Regions from separate parts of the Homo sapiens genome. Here all the other regions are linked to region 3. The links are contacts of gene promoters, found by promoter capture Hi-C in human tissues and cell types (Jung and others, 2019). All regions are on one chromosome and are shown on one strand. Each heading gives the region's core, a stretch centred on a gene start or on the middle of the fragment in contact. The rest is flanking DNA. Distances are from core to core; before and after follow the strand shown. Region 1 holds the start of HOXB-AS2 (HOXB cluster antisense RNA 2). Region 2 holds the start of UBE2Z (ubiquitin conjugating enzyme E2 Z). Region 3 holds the start of HOXB13 (homeobox B13).

Evidence for each region. Contacts are between HindIII fragments. The study calls those that stand out against the background at their distance.
Region 1: a fragment that was not itself captured here is called in contact with the fragment with the promoter of HOXB13 in region 3 in 2 of the 25 tissues and cell types used here (H1 embryonic stem cells and mesendoderm cells).
Region 2: the fragment with the promoter of UBE2Z here is called in contact with the fragment with the promoter of HOXB13 in region 3 in 1 of the 25 tissues and cell types used here (mesenchymal stem cells).

The regions. Positions count from the first base shown.
Region 1 is chr17:48,554,781-48,558,945 of GRCh38, forward strand. HOXB3 (homeobox B3) reads right to left here. Exons shown (of 5, transcript NM_001384749.1): 3 at 751-838. It overlaps HOXB-AS2 (HOXB cluster antisense RNA 2), which reads left to right and starts at 1,377. Exons shown (of 2, transcript NR_046610.1): 1 at 1,377-2,578. The HindIII fragment of the contact is 5,652 bases long and covers 1-4,165 here.
Region 2 is chr17:48,907,150-48,911,777 of GRCh38, forward strand. UBE2Z (ubiquitin conjugating enzyme E2 Z) reads left to right here and starts at 1,258. Exons shown (of 7, transcript NM_023079.5): 1 at 1,258-1,671; 2 at 3,659-3,731. The coding sequence starts at 1,355. It overlaps LOC105371814 (a long non-coding RNA gene), which reads right to left and starts at 1,834. Exons shown (of 4, transcript NR_135674.1): 1 at 1,790-1,834. RefSeq lists silencers at 1,397-1,646, 1,917-2,046 and enhancers at 2,920-2,969, 2,990-3,039. The HindIII fragment of the contact is 7,727 bases long and covers 1-4,628 here.
Region 3 is chr17:48,725,901-48,730,328 of GRCh38, forward strand. HOXB13 (homeobox B13) reads right to left here and starts at 2,850. Exons shown (of 2, transcript NM_006361.6): 1 at 2,093-2,850; 2 at 1-1,143. The coding sequence starts at 2,693. The coding sequence ends at 890. The HindIII fragment of the contact is 5,391 bases long and covers 2,335-4,428 here.

The DNA.
Region 1 (4,165 bases), core at 1,084-3,583, 170 kb before region 3:
CTTAGAAACTCCGCTTCGGGACTTTGCTCAGCAGGGCTCCGGGTTGGAGGGCGCCGAGGCCTGGCGGACGGGACAGTGGGAAGAGAGAAAGGTGCTAAGGGGACCCAAGATCTGGGATCCAGAACAAGAGGGGGTGGGGAACAACTCTACCAAGCCAAACAGATCTATTTCCCTTGCCTCCATGTTGGAAAAATTCAGGTTCCATATGGCTCCTCGGGAGGGAGGGAGGGAGACGGTGGCTGCCGGCTTCCCCCCAGGGTCTCGCTGGAGAAGGGAGATGAGCCCCCCGCAAGAACCCCACCTTGCCAAGCACACCCCAGGGAGAGCCAGGAGAGTAACAATAGCTGGGGAAGCCCCGAGAGAGGGGATAGGCCATCTTCCAGGACTTAAAAAAATTAATGGGAGAAAGAAAAATAACAAGAAAGGAAGACAGAGAAAGGTTGAGACTTTCTTAGCAGCCGCGGAGAAAATTCAGCCCTGGATCTGGCTGCTGAAAGAAAAGAGAGAGAGGAGAAAAGAGGAGAGAAGCAGGAAGAGAGAGGGGAGAGAGAGAGGGAGAGAGAGAGAGAGAGAGAGAGAGAGAGGGAGGGAGGGAGGGAGGGAGGGAGGGAGAGAGAGAGTCGCTGCGTGGAAGGAAGCTTAAAGCTTGTGAACTCTTCTTGAACCGAGATTGGAGTCATATGGGCCATAAATCATTGAGACATACTCTCCGCCATTCACAAACTGATAGCCTATTTCAGTCCAGCTTACCTTAGCCACCGACGAGGGGAGAACAGGCAGACATAATATATATTCACATCGAGCCCCAGAGCGAGCGGCAGGCGACAAATCTCCCCTCCTTGAAGGCAAAGGAAAAAAAGACCACTGTTTAAAGCTGCGTCGCCCCCCGCCCCCCCGCCCCCGCCCCGCAAAGCCACCCCGGCTGGGGAGCCCGAGGGGCAGACCGGCCAGAGGAGCCGCGCGGCGTCCGCTTCAATTCACTCGGCTTAGGAGCAGGGGTGCGCAGGAGGGAGGGGGTGGGGGAGCGGGAAAAAAAATAGAAGACCGAAAGGTGCCGGGCGGCTCAGCTCGCCAGAATCCAGCTCCGGGCTCCAGCAGGGCTAAGCCGCCACAGTGTGGTTGCCCTATAAGACTGGTACGCCCTACTCTCCGTAACAATGGCCTCTGCTTTTGCACAGGGAAAAAAAACCACACAGACACACACACACACTCACTCACACACAAGCTCACACCCCCCCACCTCTCCCCCTTTAGCAAGCTTAGATGCCTGATAAGGAGGGAAGGTGATGGTGGTGATGGGGAAGGGGGGAAATTTTAAAATACCCGCCTCCCCAAAAAAAGAGTAAGAAGAAAAGAAGGAGGGTTTTTTTTTTTTCCTTAAAGAACAGGTAAAAATTTAAATCTAGATTGGAGGGACAGGGAGGAAGAGGTGAGCAAAGGCAAGGAAGGGCGGTGAAGTTCACAGCTCCCCCCATACCCCACTAGTGAACTATTATGCTAATATGAGAAGTAGTATTTGGAGGCTGAGTCAAAGGCAGGCCTGGCCCGGGGGTGAGGGTGCCGGGTGCCCCTCTGCACTCATTCGCAATTGGAACACCAGGACTTTTTTAGAAAGTAGTTCTGGGTCTCCAACCCTCACACTCTGGCTCCCTCCTTCTGAGTCTCCAGCCCCGGCTTCTTCCCTCCACTACACCCTCTCTATTCCTCCCAAATCTCCCTCCAGTCTCCAGGCCCAGTCTCTAACCAAGGGAGAGGGAAAGACCAGAACTTAAAAAAAAAAAAAAAAAAAAAACACCCCTCCCCCTTTTTCTTTTTGAGAACAGACAACAAGCGGTGAGTGATGATTTTAAAAACTCTGAACATCTTGCAGGGGGAGGAGGGTTGAGAAAAGGGTGACAAAAGGAGGACTCTGTGTTTTAGTTTGAGCTCCAGACTGGCTGGCAGTAGACGGGCTGAAAGAACTTCATGGATAAGTTTCTGTTATGATTCTCACCTCCGAATAGGCAGAAGGGGCTAAGAGGTGATAAGGACATTTGTACTTCTAAGAAGAGAAGAACTAGCAGGGTCGCTTAATTTTAAATGCACTGGCAGAAGAGATGGAAGATGGTTATTATTATTATTCAGAACAACCCTGTTTGTTTCTCTCTGCCCTGCAAGATTTATGACTCTTGGCACAAGTGAGGAAGGCCACAAAAGCTAAAGTTTTCTTAGGGTGTGTTTGAGCAGGGCAGGAAAAGGCAAGGAGGAGGCCTGTAGGAGGAAGACAGGAGCCAAAAATGTAGGTGTCTGCAGATTTGGGACAGGGGGTGGGGAATAGTCATTCCGGGAGGAAGGAAAAGACAAAAAGAGCACCAGGACATTTCCCAAAGCAGGAGTGTTTGCAACTCTGCCTAACTGCTGACTCGGAGCTAGGGGATGAAATAGAAAGCTGACTCTTTTCTCTAAAGGCAGCTTGGAAAACTGGTCCTCTTAACTTCATGTAAGGCACTACCCTGTGATTTCCTGGTTAGAATACTTGGCTTTTGCCTTCTCCCATCTGGATGCACCAGAAGAGGGAACGGGACTGGGGACAACAAAGGTGAGAGTTGATTTCCAGCTTTTGTGTTCCCTCCAGCATAGGTTGGAGGTGTCTGGCAAAGCTTCCCTCATTCCCTCTCTCTCCCCACTCACAGGCTCTACTTTGGGATGAGATAGGGAGTGGCCCCTGGCCTCCAGCCCCTACTTCTTCCAGGCAAGGCTAAGTCAGGCCAGGTGATTTGGAGCAGCCGGTTTCCAGGGGCCCTGATAAACTGGGGGTACCTATGGCCTTCCTGCCCTCCAGCAACAGAAGCCACTTGCAGAGCCTCAGAATGTAATGTCCTGAGGACCCCACCTCCCACCTAGAAAGTTGACAGCTGGGGGGAAGCACGGGTTGGGGGACATGGGGATGGAGGGTGGGAGCTATTTTTCTGTGTTTATTAGCTATTATTCTGTGTTTATTAGTATTTTTCTGTGTTTATTAGTAGTATCAAGAAAATAAAACATCCAAGTCAGACCTAGACTTGGGGCTCAAGCCAGCCTGGAACCCCAAAGAGACCTGTTAGGGGTGCCTGAGCATGTGGCTGCAAAAAGTCTGTCCTGAGATCTCTACACTCTGGTTAGAGACCTACAGGGTCAGACCCCATGTAACTTTGAGCTTGGTGGGTCAGGGACTCAGGCCAGGGAGGCTTCCAGAGGCTTAAAGAAACCAGTACCTTTGGGGTTTTTTTTTCTATCACTCCCCCAAATAAAAAAAAAGCCAAGAATGTACCTCAAAACCTCTGCTGTCCTAGCTGTTACTATCATTGGGTTAGAGAAGGTCATTGTAAAACTGAGAGAAGAGGAGAACCTGATCGCTTTTGGGACTGCGCAGCTTTGCCTCTAGGAATAACACGAGAGTCCAGAAGGCACCCAGGCAGCCTCGGGCCGGCTGCAGGAGAAGCGGGCCTGGAGCTGAGCTGGGAGTGGAGGAGTGTTCCAGAGACAACAGCAGACCCCTCCCTTCCCCAAGCCTCCTCAACTCTTTGTGGTCCCTCGGGCTACAGAAGGCAGTGGGGCATAGTGGGGTGGGAGTGAAAAAGAGGACCGAGAAGCAAGAAAATGAACCTGGAGAAAATCTCAGAGGACATATACCCCCAAATGCGGTAGGAGATGGAGTGGGGGCTTCTTAATTCTGGAGTACAGAGCCCATTTGGAATACTTGGGAGGCAATTAGATCCCAGTTTAGTTTCTGTCTTGCCTTTTTTCTTCCATTCTCAGAGGTCTCTGGCGAGCAGGCGGGCTGCCCTCTGATTAGGGCTGGGAGGCTGGAGGACGGAGGGTGGAACAGGCACCCCTAAGGGCCCCTGTTTGGACTGAGGTGTTGCTGCTAGCCAGGGGATTTTCAAACTTCAGGGGATAAAGGCTGGTAGTGAGGAGTTTGAGCAGGGAACTTGGGGTGGGGGACGCCAGAGCAGGCTGAGGGAAGACTTTGGGGTCTGGGAAAAGAGAAGCAGGAGAAGGGCTTATCATCCCTGAGAGTGAAGCCATGATTTCGGAACAGACTGGAGATACAGAAGAGGGAACAATTTCTTCTTGGATTTGGGAGGGAAACCTGGAAAACTGTGTGTGTGTGCCCATGTGTGTAGGGTGTGTGTGTGTGTGAGAG
Region 2 (4,628 bases), core at 8-2,507, 180 kb after region 3:
CCTGCCTCAGCCTTCCGAGTAGCTGGGACTACAGGCGCCCGCCACCACGCCCGGCTAATTTTTTGTATTTTTAGTAGAGACGGGGTTTCACAGTGTTAGCCAGGATGGTCTTGATCTCCTGACCTAGTGATCCGCCCGCCTCAGCCTCCCAAAGTGCTGGGATTACAGGCATGAGCCACCGCGCCCGGCAAGGAAAAACAGTTTTTTAGGAAGGCCCCTGTCATTCTTAGTCCATAGGAATTTTTTTTTTTTTTTTTGAGACGGAGTCTGGCTCTGTCGCCCAGGCTGGAGTGCAGTGGCGTGATCTCAACTCACTGCAAACTCCGCCTCCCGGGTTCAAGTGATCCACCTGCCTAAGCCTCCTGAGTAGCTGGGACTACAGGTGCACGCCACCACGCCCGGCTAATTTTTGTATTTTTAATAGAGGCGGGGTTTCACCATGTTAGGCTGGTCTCGAACTCCTAACCTCGTGATTCGCCCACCTCGGCCTCCCAAAGTGCTGGGATTACAGGCGTGAGCCACCGAGCCTGGCAGATTATTTTTCACTTTAAACATTTTAGGAAAGACCCAAAGAATCCTCAGGGTTTACACTCACAGTACCTCGATTCCTGTATATTCCAAGATTTGTGGGAAGAAAAAGTACTAAGCTTGGAGTCAGGAGGCCTGATGTTTCTTCCTTTCACCAAGCTTCTCTAGTTCTGTTTCATTATCCCCATGGCAACAACTAGCAACAGTGACTGGCATTTAGTAGGCCCTTCATAAATATATGTTGAATAAACTCTAAAAGAGGTAGCTTTTCATTCCAAGTTGAGTTCTCTCTTGGTCCTGTTGCAGGCAAGGGCAATGGTACCCTGCCCTAGGTGCACAAGTGTGCAGGAGGGATCAATCGCAGAGCCTTTCCGAGAGAAGGGGCCCAAAGCGAGTCAACTTCTCTACTGAGCTTCCCATGAGGATGCTGGATCCCCAATCCTAACCATGCAGACGTCTGAGGGTCGCCGCCATTAACGGGAATGATATGGCCCTTCCTCCCCCACTCCCTCCTCTCTTCTCCCCTTTCAACACTTGAATTGGGCTCTCCGCTACTTCCGCACAGCGCAGGACCCACACGAGCCCAGAACCATCACGGCCTGCTAGTTCCCACCCCTCCCGTCCTGGAGGACCGTAGGTGGACGCTCTTGCAGAGCGCCTCTCGCTGGTTGGGGCGGGGGTGGGCGGAGCCAGCACCGTCTGGGCTGTGGAAGCGGAGGGGGTGGGGACACTCTGGCCCGGTTCTCGGTGGTGCGGGAGCGGGCGGGAGCAGCGGCCGCTCTGGTCGGCGGACGTGCTGCCGAGTAGTCCCGGAAGCGAAGCAGCGATGGCGGAGAGTCCGACTGAGGAGGCGGCAACGGCGGGCGCCGGGGCGGCGGGCCCCGGGGCGAGCAGCGTTGCTGGTGTTGTTGGCGTTAGCGGCAGCGGCGGCGGGTTCGGGCCGCCTTTCCTGCCGGATGTGTGGGCGGCGGCGGCGGCAGCGGGCGGGGCCGGGGGCCCGGGGAGCGGCCTGGCTCCGCTGCCCGGGCTCCCGCCCTCAGCCGCTGCCCACGGGGCCGCGCTGCTTAGCCACTGGGACCCCACGCTCAGCTCCGACTGGGACGGCGAGCGCACCGCGCCGCAGTGTCTACTCCGGATCAAGCGGTGAGCCGGGGTTTTTCCTCCCCCAGCCCCGAGCTCCGGGGCTCGACCTTCCCCGCCCCCCACCCTCTCCCACTACAACTCACCCCCCACCCACTGCGCTGCCCTCGCGGCGGCCCACCTCCACGGCCCAAATCTTGCCAGCTCCGGGCGTCGGGATCCAACTCCCTTCTCCCCCCACCCTCAGACCCGCAAGCACCAACCCCCGCCTCGTGTGCCCAGATCCGACCCCGCCCCTCGACAACCTCCCGTGAGCCCTCCGTCTCCATTCCGGCCACCCTCCCCCACACCTCCCACCTCCGGGTGGAAACCCGACCCTTTAGCGCTTCAGTAACGCCCCCTCCCGCCTTCGGCGCCGCCCCTATTTCCCCTTCCCCACCCCAACCTTGCTAGATGCTGCCCGCAGGCCCCACCCATCGGTCCCCTCTCTTCTCCTCTGGAGCCCCGTTCCTAACACAGACGAACTCAGCTTCCTTTGCCATGCCTCTGACTCGAGCCAACCTTTCTTTTTATCCTCCGTTTTTCTCAGATTCCCTCCACACAGTCTTTTCCCAGGTCTAGATCGCTTCCCTCGCCCCAATCTTTCCTTGAACCCCTTTTCCAGTGTCCCAAAGCTGTCCACTCTTACGCCTCTTCCAGAAACACAGGCTACCTCCCCCCAATTCCCCAGTGCCACTCTGGATTGTAATATCCCACTCAGGAGCTTCTTTCTTGTAATTTCCCTCCCCCCACCCCCCACCCTCCCCGGGTCGTCTGTTTTACTTCTATGAAGCAAATATACTCATCAAATATAGGAACAAAGGCCTAAGTCCTTTCTGTGCTTATTTCTTGGGTGACTGATCTTAGATCCTATCATTTAGTAGATGATGTTTTCCAGAAGCACATAGAATAGTACCTATCGCATAAGAAAAGGGCAGTGCTCTTTAGCTATTAATCCTGAAACCTGTTTGACTTCTCCCCATGCCCCCATCACAAGCATCTTCGTTTAGTTCTTATTCCCCATGTTCCACGTCCTTTCAGATGTCTCTGTGTCTACTTTTCAAGGTTGTAATAAAAATTAATATAATGTGTGTAAAGTACCTGGCACAGTGCCTGACACAGGAGGTCAACTGTGGAGGGATTGCCACCTCTAACTGAAACTCAGCACTCAACTCTTTTCCTCCTCCAGCCATTTCAGTCATCCAATTCTGACATACCTTTGAGTTTGGCCAATGCTTTCCTCTGCTTTGTCGCCTATTTGCCCTTTTTATGTCCCTACCCACCCTAGCAAGTCCCTAGGCTTTTCGCCACCTAGAATGTTCTTTAGCCCCTTGCTCTCAACTGATCCATTCCAGTTGGTGAGATATGAGTCAGAAATCTTATCTCCTATGGAAGTCCACATGTCATCTTCCAGATGGGAGATTCTTAGCAATTTCTGAGGATCCCTCCCCAGCCTGAAGAGATCTCTACCCTGAGACACCCCTGGGCAAGAAGGCCACCATGATAGTCTTACTCTCTGCTGGCTGGCTTGCTTCATACAATCCCCTTACCAATAAAGGTCCACTGTATAGTTTATAGAATTAGTTTTTTAGTGGAGTTGATGATGCCTTTCCAGTTACTAAAAAATCTTCATTTAGCATTCAGTCGTAGTACCTGGGAATCATGGAGGTGGGGAGTGAATGAATTGCCATGTGGGAGGAAGTGAGAGTAAGTGGAAAGTGGCTTTTCCAGGCTGACATTTGATGCCATTGGGATCTCTGATTTTTTTCCTCTCTCCCTCCCCTCCCCCTGAGGAAACAATGCCCTTTTGATAATAATTTGCTCTCTGCCTGCCTGACAAGTACTCAGCTGAGATTTCTCAGCCAACAAGACAGTACAAACACTTGCGGTACCAAGCACCACTTTCTCAAACCCTGGCCTCATTGAGGTGATAACAACTGTCCTGCTCAAGGGATTCCCCCTTTCCCCCTCTTCCTCACTCCTTCCCCCACCTCCTCTTGGTGTTATACAGGGATATCATGTCCATTTATAAGGAGCCTCCTCCAGGAATGTTCGTTGTACCTGATACTGTTGACATGACTAAGGTATGTAACTTGATGGGGGTTTGGGGGGTTTTGGGAAATTGGGGGCCATAAGGTTGCAAAAGCCTAAAAGAGATTATTCAGCTCACCTCTCCGATTACACAGATGAAGAAATCAAGACCCCAGGAGAGTAAGTGGCTTGTCCAAGGTCACATAGTGAGGTGGAGCAGCACTTTGAAGAGGTGTCTGTTATTAGTGTACCCCATAGGTACTGATTGGCTTGGAAAATCCCAGTTCATGTCTGTTGTCGCAGCTTGACTATTTATAGGGCATTCTTTCACTCTCAAAAATGCTCCTGTTTGGATAATAAATTATATGGTCACCCTATCCATTGTACTACCCAGCTCTTCCCCCATCCCGTTACTCTTGACATTAACTATGCTATGGTACTATAAATCAGATGTAGGGAAGGTTGGGAATAGGGCAAGCTTGACTGAAGTGTTTGTGGTTAAAGGACTTTGCTCAGGATCCTGTCCTTACTGGTTGCGTTTAAGTATCCCTTCCACCCCAAAGACTATACCTCTCTTGTCCTCCTCTCAGAGAGAAAGCTTAATACATAATGTCACATTTCTCTGGCATAGATACCTAGGTTTCTCTGTCACTGAATGCTCTACCCACAGAAGTGCAGTTGCACTTAAACTGATGTTAGAAAGAAATCATATTTCCTAAACCTAATGCTGTTTAAGTGAAACACATAGTTTTCTTACAGTAAATTTCTTACAGTAAAAATTCAGATTTTGTATTGTTGGTGTATCTTTTTTTGTTGTTTTGAATAGATTTCCCTTCATATTTTTTTTTTATGTAGTTAGAAATGTTTTTCCTAGGACATCTCGTCCTCAGTCAAGTACCAGTGTTAATAGCCTAGTACCTGGGGTCCCAGAGTTGATGCCATGTTGAGAC
Region 3 (4,428 bases), core at 1,600-4,099:
CTGCCACTCCGTTTGTGCCTGGGAAGGGCTAAGTATGCAAGGCTACAAACATCTACTTCACTGGGATCCCAAATGCTCAACAAACCATGACCTGCTTTGGTCAGAACCACCAGAAATATTAAGGGAAGACTCAGAGAGTTTGGGGGAGGAAATTAATGGTGAATTACCCAGGCACTTTCTCAAATCTCTTTTTCTCTGGAAGGAAGGACTGACTAGGGGCAGCCTGCTGGCTTCATTTTCACACGACAGAAAAATCATCGTATTAAGGATGGGTGCTTCCAAGACCAGTGGGTACACCCTATGGGGTGGACAAGGAGGGAGGAAGAGACAGCCTCTACAATTGTCCACCTACCCAGCTGTCAGCTGAGAAAAATGCTAAACGGACATCACAGCCACACAACGAATCTGCCCGTTCCCCTCTCCTCAGTCTTCCTGCTGTTACCAGGGTGAGAGGTGTAATGGAAGGGGGTCTGAGAGAAAGCTTCCCTGCAAAGGGATCGCCTTCCAAATTTATTCATAATTAGCTCAATTCATGAAAGCGGTTTCTAAAGTGCTCTACAGAGCTCTAGATAGAAAATATGAGGCTAACGATCATGGCAGCTAGTACTGGTTATCGTGATTATTGCCACTGTCAGGATGAATGATTATGACTGGGCCAGGTTCTTTGGGAACCCTGGTGGAGTGGGCTGTCACATGGGGTTCCGTCTCCCTGCACATACTGGGTACCCAGGCCGCTCCTGAGGAACAGTCCAGCAGCCAGTGGCCTGGGAAGGGTGTTGTCTCTAGGGGCCTCTCAGCAGAGTCCTTGGCCCCAGCCTGGGCTTGGCAGGTTCCTGGTCTCCCCAGGACACCCCCACTTTCGCTCCTCCCACCCAGGCAAGGAGATCTCTTAAGGGGTAGCGCTGTTCTTCACCTTGGCGAGAACCTTCTTCTCTTTGACCCGGCGGTTCTGAAACCAGATGGTAATCTGGCGCTCCGAGAGGCTGGTGGCTGCCGAGATCTTGCGCCTCTTGTCCTTGGTGATGAACTTGTTAGCCGCATACTCCCGCTCCAGCTCCCGCAACTGCCCCTTGCTGTACGGAATGCGTTTCTTGCGGCCGCGACGAAAGGCGCAGGCGTCAGGAGGGTGCTGCCCGCTGGAGTCTGCGCGGCGTGAAAGGGAGGGAGGAAAAGGCATGGTCAGATACCCACCCATGCAGACCCAGGCCTTGCAAGCCCCAAGCTAAGTCATCTCACAGGTGCACACAGGTCACCCTACAGGCGCACGTGCAATCCTGTTCCTCCAAAGCATACCAGGACAGCACCCTGGCTTCCGGCTTGTTCTCTCACCACCGCTCAGCCTTGGCTCCTGAAGGCCACCCTCACCCATCACTGCTCTCACACCCGCGAATCTGCAAACATACCCACACACCACACACAGTCAGGCCTTTGCCCACCATCACATACGTCCAGTCTTCATGCATTTCCAGACTCTTGGCCACTCTTTTAGATTCTACAGGCAAATTCTGGAAACACGTTTCTGCCCCCACTCCCAATACATGCGCATACACACACACACACACACATTAACCCATCCCAGTGCACACACATATGTCACGGCTGCAGGAAACCTAAATTTTTCTTTGGAAATTGGAAAACTCATCTAATAGAAAGTGAGAGGTTGTATTCTCTACAGTACATCCAATACCTTTTTACCCATCTCCCACACCCACTCCCCACGCACCGAATTGAGAGTTATTTAGCTTTTGTGTAGAATTAGTTTGGAATTGTGCTGGGTAGGGACACCCTGATCCCCACTCAACAGCAAAGAGATCTAAACCTCTCAGACATGTTGAAAGGCTGGTCCCAGGGCCTCCTGGAGAAGTGAGGTGGCCTTCAGGCTTCAGATAGCACCCAGCTCAGGCCCCTCACACTGACCTCCATCCAGGCCCTCCAGCTACTCAGACCTCCTTCAGAGTCCTAATAACCAAGGGAGGAGCACCAAGCTCATCCTCACCAGCTCCAAGTCTCCCTCCTCCTCCTCCCAGGGAAATGCCATTGGGACCCACAACCCCAGGCTCAGAGACAAGGGGACCCAGGGTAATAGAGGTACCTGCAAATGCTGCCTTCCAAAAGGGACCTGGTGGGTTCTGTTCTCCCTGGCAACACATCTGGCTGTTCCAGCCACCAGCGAGAGCCCAAGACTGGTAACTGTCCACAGGCAACAGGGAGTCATGTCGCGGTTCTCCAGGAGCACCCAGAGTCTGCACCACAGACACGTCCAGGTAACTGGCCATAGGCTGGTAGGTTCCCGGATATCCCGGATAGAAGGCAAACTCAGTGGGGCGGCTGGGGTACTCTTCCCCGGCCGTGGGAGTCTCCGCGGGGTACGCGGCCAGGGTGGCTGCCTGGGCACAGGGTTTCAGCGAGCTCCGGGACACTCGGCAGGAGTAGTACCCGCCTCCAAAGTAACCATAAGGCACGGGAGCTGGGGACGTCCCCTGGGGCACCCCAGGGCATGGGTGGCATTGCTTTGGCGGCTCCGCCGAGCCTGGCAGATCCAAGGGGGCATAGTTGACAGCAGGCATCAGCGTAGGCGCCGCTGGGTGGCTGGTCAGAGGGGAGTGGGCGACCAGATTCCGCCCCCCTCCCGCTCCCAGCAAGCCTTCGATATCCTTGGCTCCATCCAAGGTGGCATAATTGCCGGGCTCCATGGAGCCGAGGGTCGGCTCATGAGGTGCGGGGGCGGGGAATCTAGGGGGCACCCAGCTCGCTCTCCCCACCCAGGCCGGGGGAATCCAAAGCGTTTTAAATCGCTCCCAGCTCGCAAGTCGCCTGCATTCGCTCAGCACGGCCGTCTTGACGCAAGAGACGCAGGGGCCCGGGCACGCGCGCTGATTGGCTGCGGCCTGGGGGAGAGAAGCTAATAAAATCCTAAAGGCAGAAACTGCGAAAATACTTTACCCCAGCTTATTCTCTCTCTCTCTCTCTCTCTTTCTCTCTCTCTCTCTCTCTCTCTCTCTCTCTGTCTCTGTCTCTCTCTCTCGCTCTCTCGCTCTTTCTCTCCTCTCTCTCTTCTCCCTCTCTCTCTTCTTTTCCCTCTCCACTCCTCTCTCTCTCATTCCACTTAAAAACAACAAGAGAGAAAAGGAAGGAGGTGTCCTTTCGCTGCTTTCCAGTTTGCAGAGTCTCATTTACACGTCCGGGGGGAGGGGAGGCGTGGTGGGCGGAGGAAGAGGGGACGAGGAGCCGGGCCCCACCTCCTTCTCCTCCTCTCCCTCCCTAGCTTTCTGTCTCCTGCGCTTTGACAGGTTTAACGAGAGAATAAAAAGCTCTCTCTATAAAGTGTCCATCTCCTGGGGGGGAAGGGGAGTCGGGGGTGGGGCTGGGAGGCCGCTCCCGGCCTCAGAGGAGAACCCGGGAATGCGCCTGTGTAAGAGGAGGCTGGGAAATGGGGGTTAATAGGTATTTCTGGCAGCCCCTGGCTTTGGGTCCTGGGTACTAGCACCCCAGTTCATTCCCGGTACCCTTCCTGTCCCAGATGTCCTGGAATGAGCTGCTCCGGGCCCCAGGGAGGTGCCCTGGACGCCCCTTACCCAGGGACTCGCTACTGCCCAGAATGCTCTGGAGGCCCTGATTCGGGTGAGGCTGAGGGAAGAGGCGGGAGACACGAACGTAGACGTAGAAGACATGCGATCTGGATGGAACCCAGGACACTCCACTTCCGGACCTGAAGGGGAAATGGAGCCTCTAGAGTGGCCTGTGGAAGGGTCTGGATTTCCCTTTAAGTAAAGACATACGGAGGGACGGAGACCCACAGGACTTGAGGGAGGGACGGGGAGAGGGAGAGATGAGACTCAGGGACAGCAACACAAAGAGGGAAAGAGAGAAGCTGACAGAGCGGATGGGACAAAATCTTGTAAAATCCTGAAGTGTCAGTCAGAAAAGAGAAAGAAGAGAGGCACTTTCCCCCTTTTTTGGGATCTAAAGAAGTCTGAGGAAGCCAAGCCTGGCTGACTGCCAGAAACCAGCTGCGGGAGTTCTGGACCCCAAGAATACAGACGCCTGTGTGGAGATGCCAGTCTCCCTGCCCTGCAGTCCTCTCCCTATGGTCTGCAAGGGGCCCAGGAAACTGTCCCTGATACTGGCATACTCCCACACAAGCTGAGTACCCAGAAAGCCCAAGACCCCTATCTGCCTCCTGCAAGCTTTAAACTTCCTTACAAGGAAAAGGGAATGGAAGGGGAAACCCCAGCCACTGGCAGAATTGCTTGAGGCCCCTCTGTTGGGGCCTAATGTGCAGTGCAATTCAGAAGAATCAAACGGTTTGTTTCACAAATCTGTCTTTAGAGGTTTTCCGCTTCCTTTACTACCCCTCCCAAATCAAATCCTTCTGTCTGCTTTTTCTAGAACTCCCAGTTTTTCTGGAGAAGACAGGAATGTTTCCAT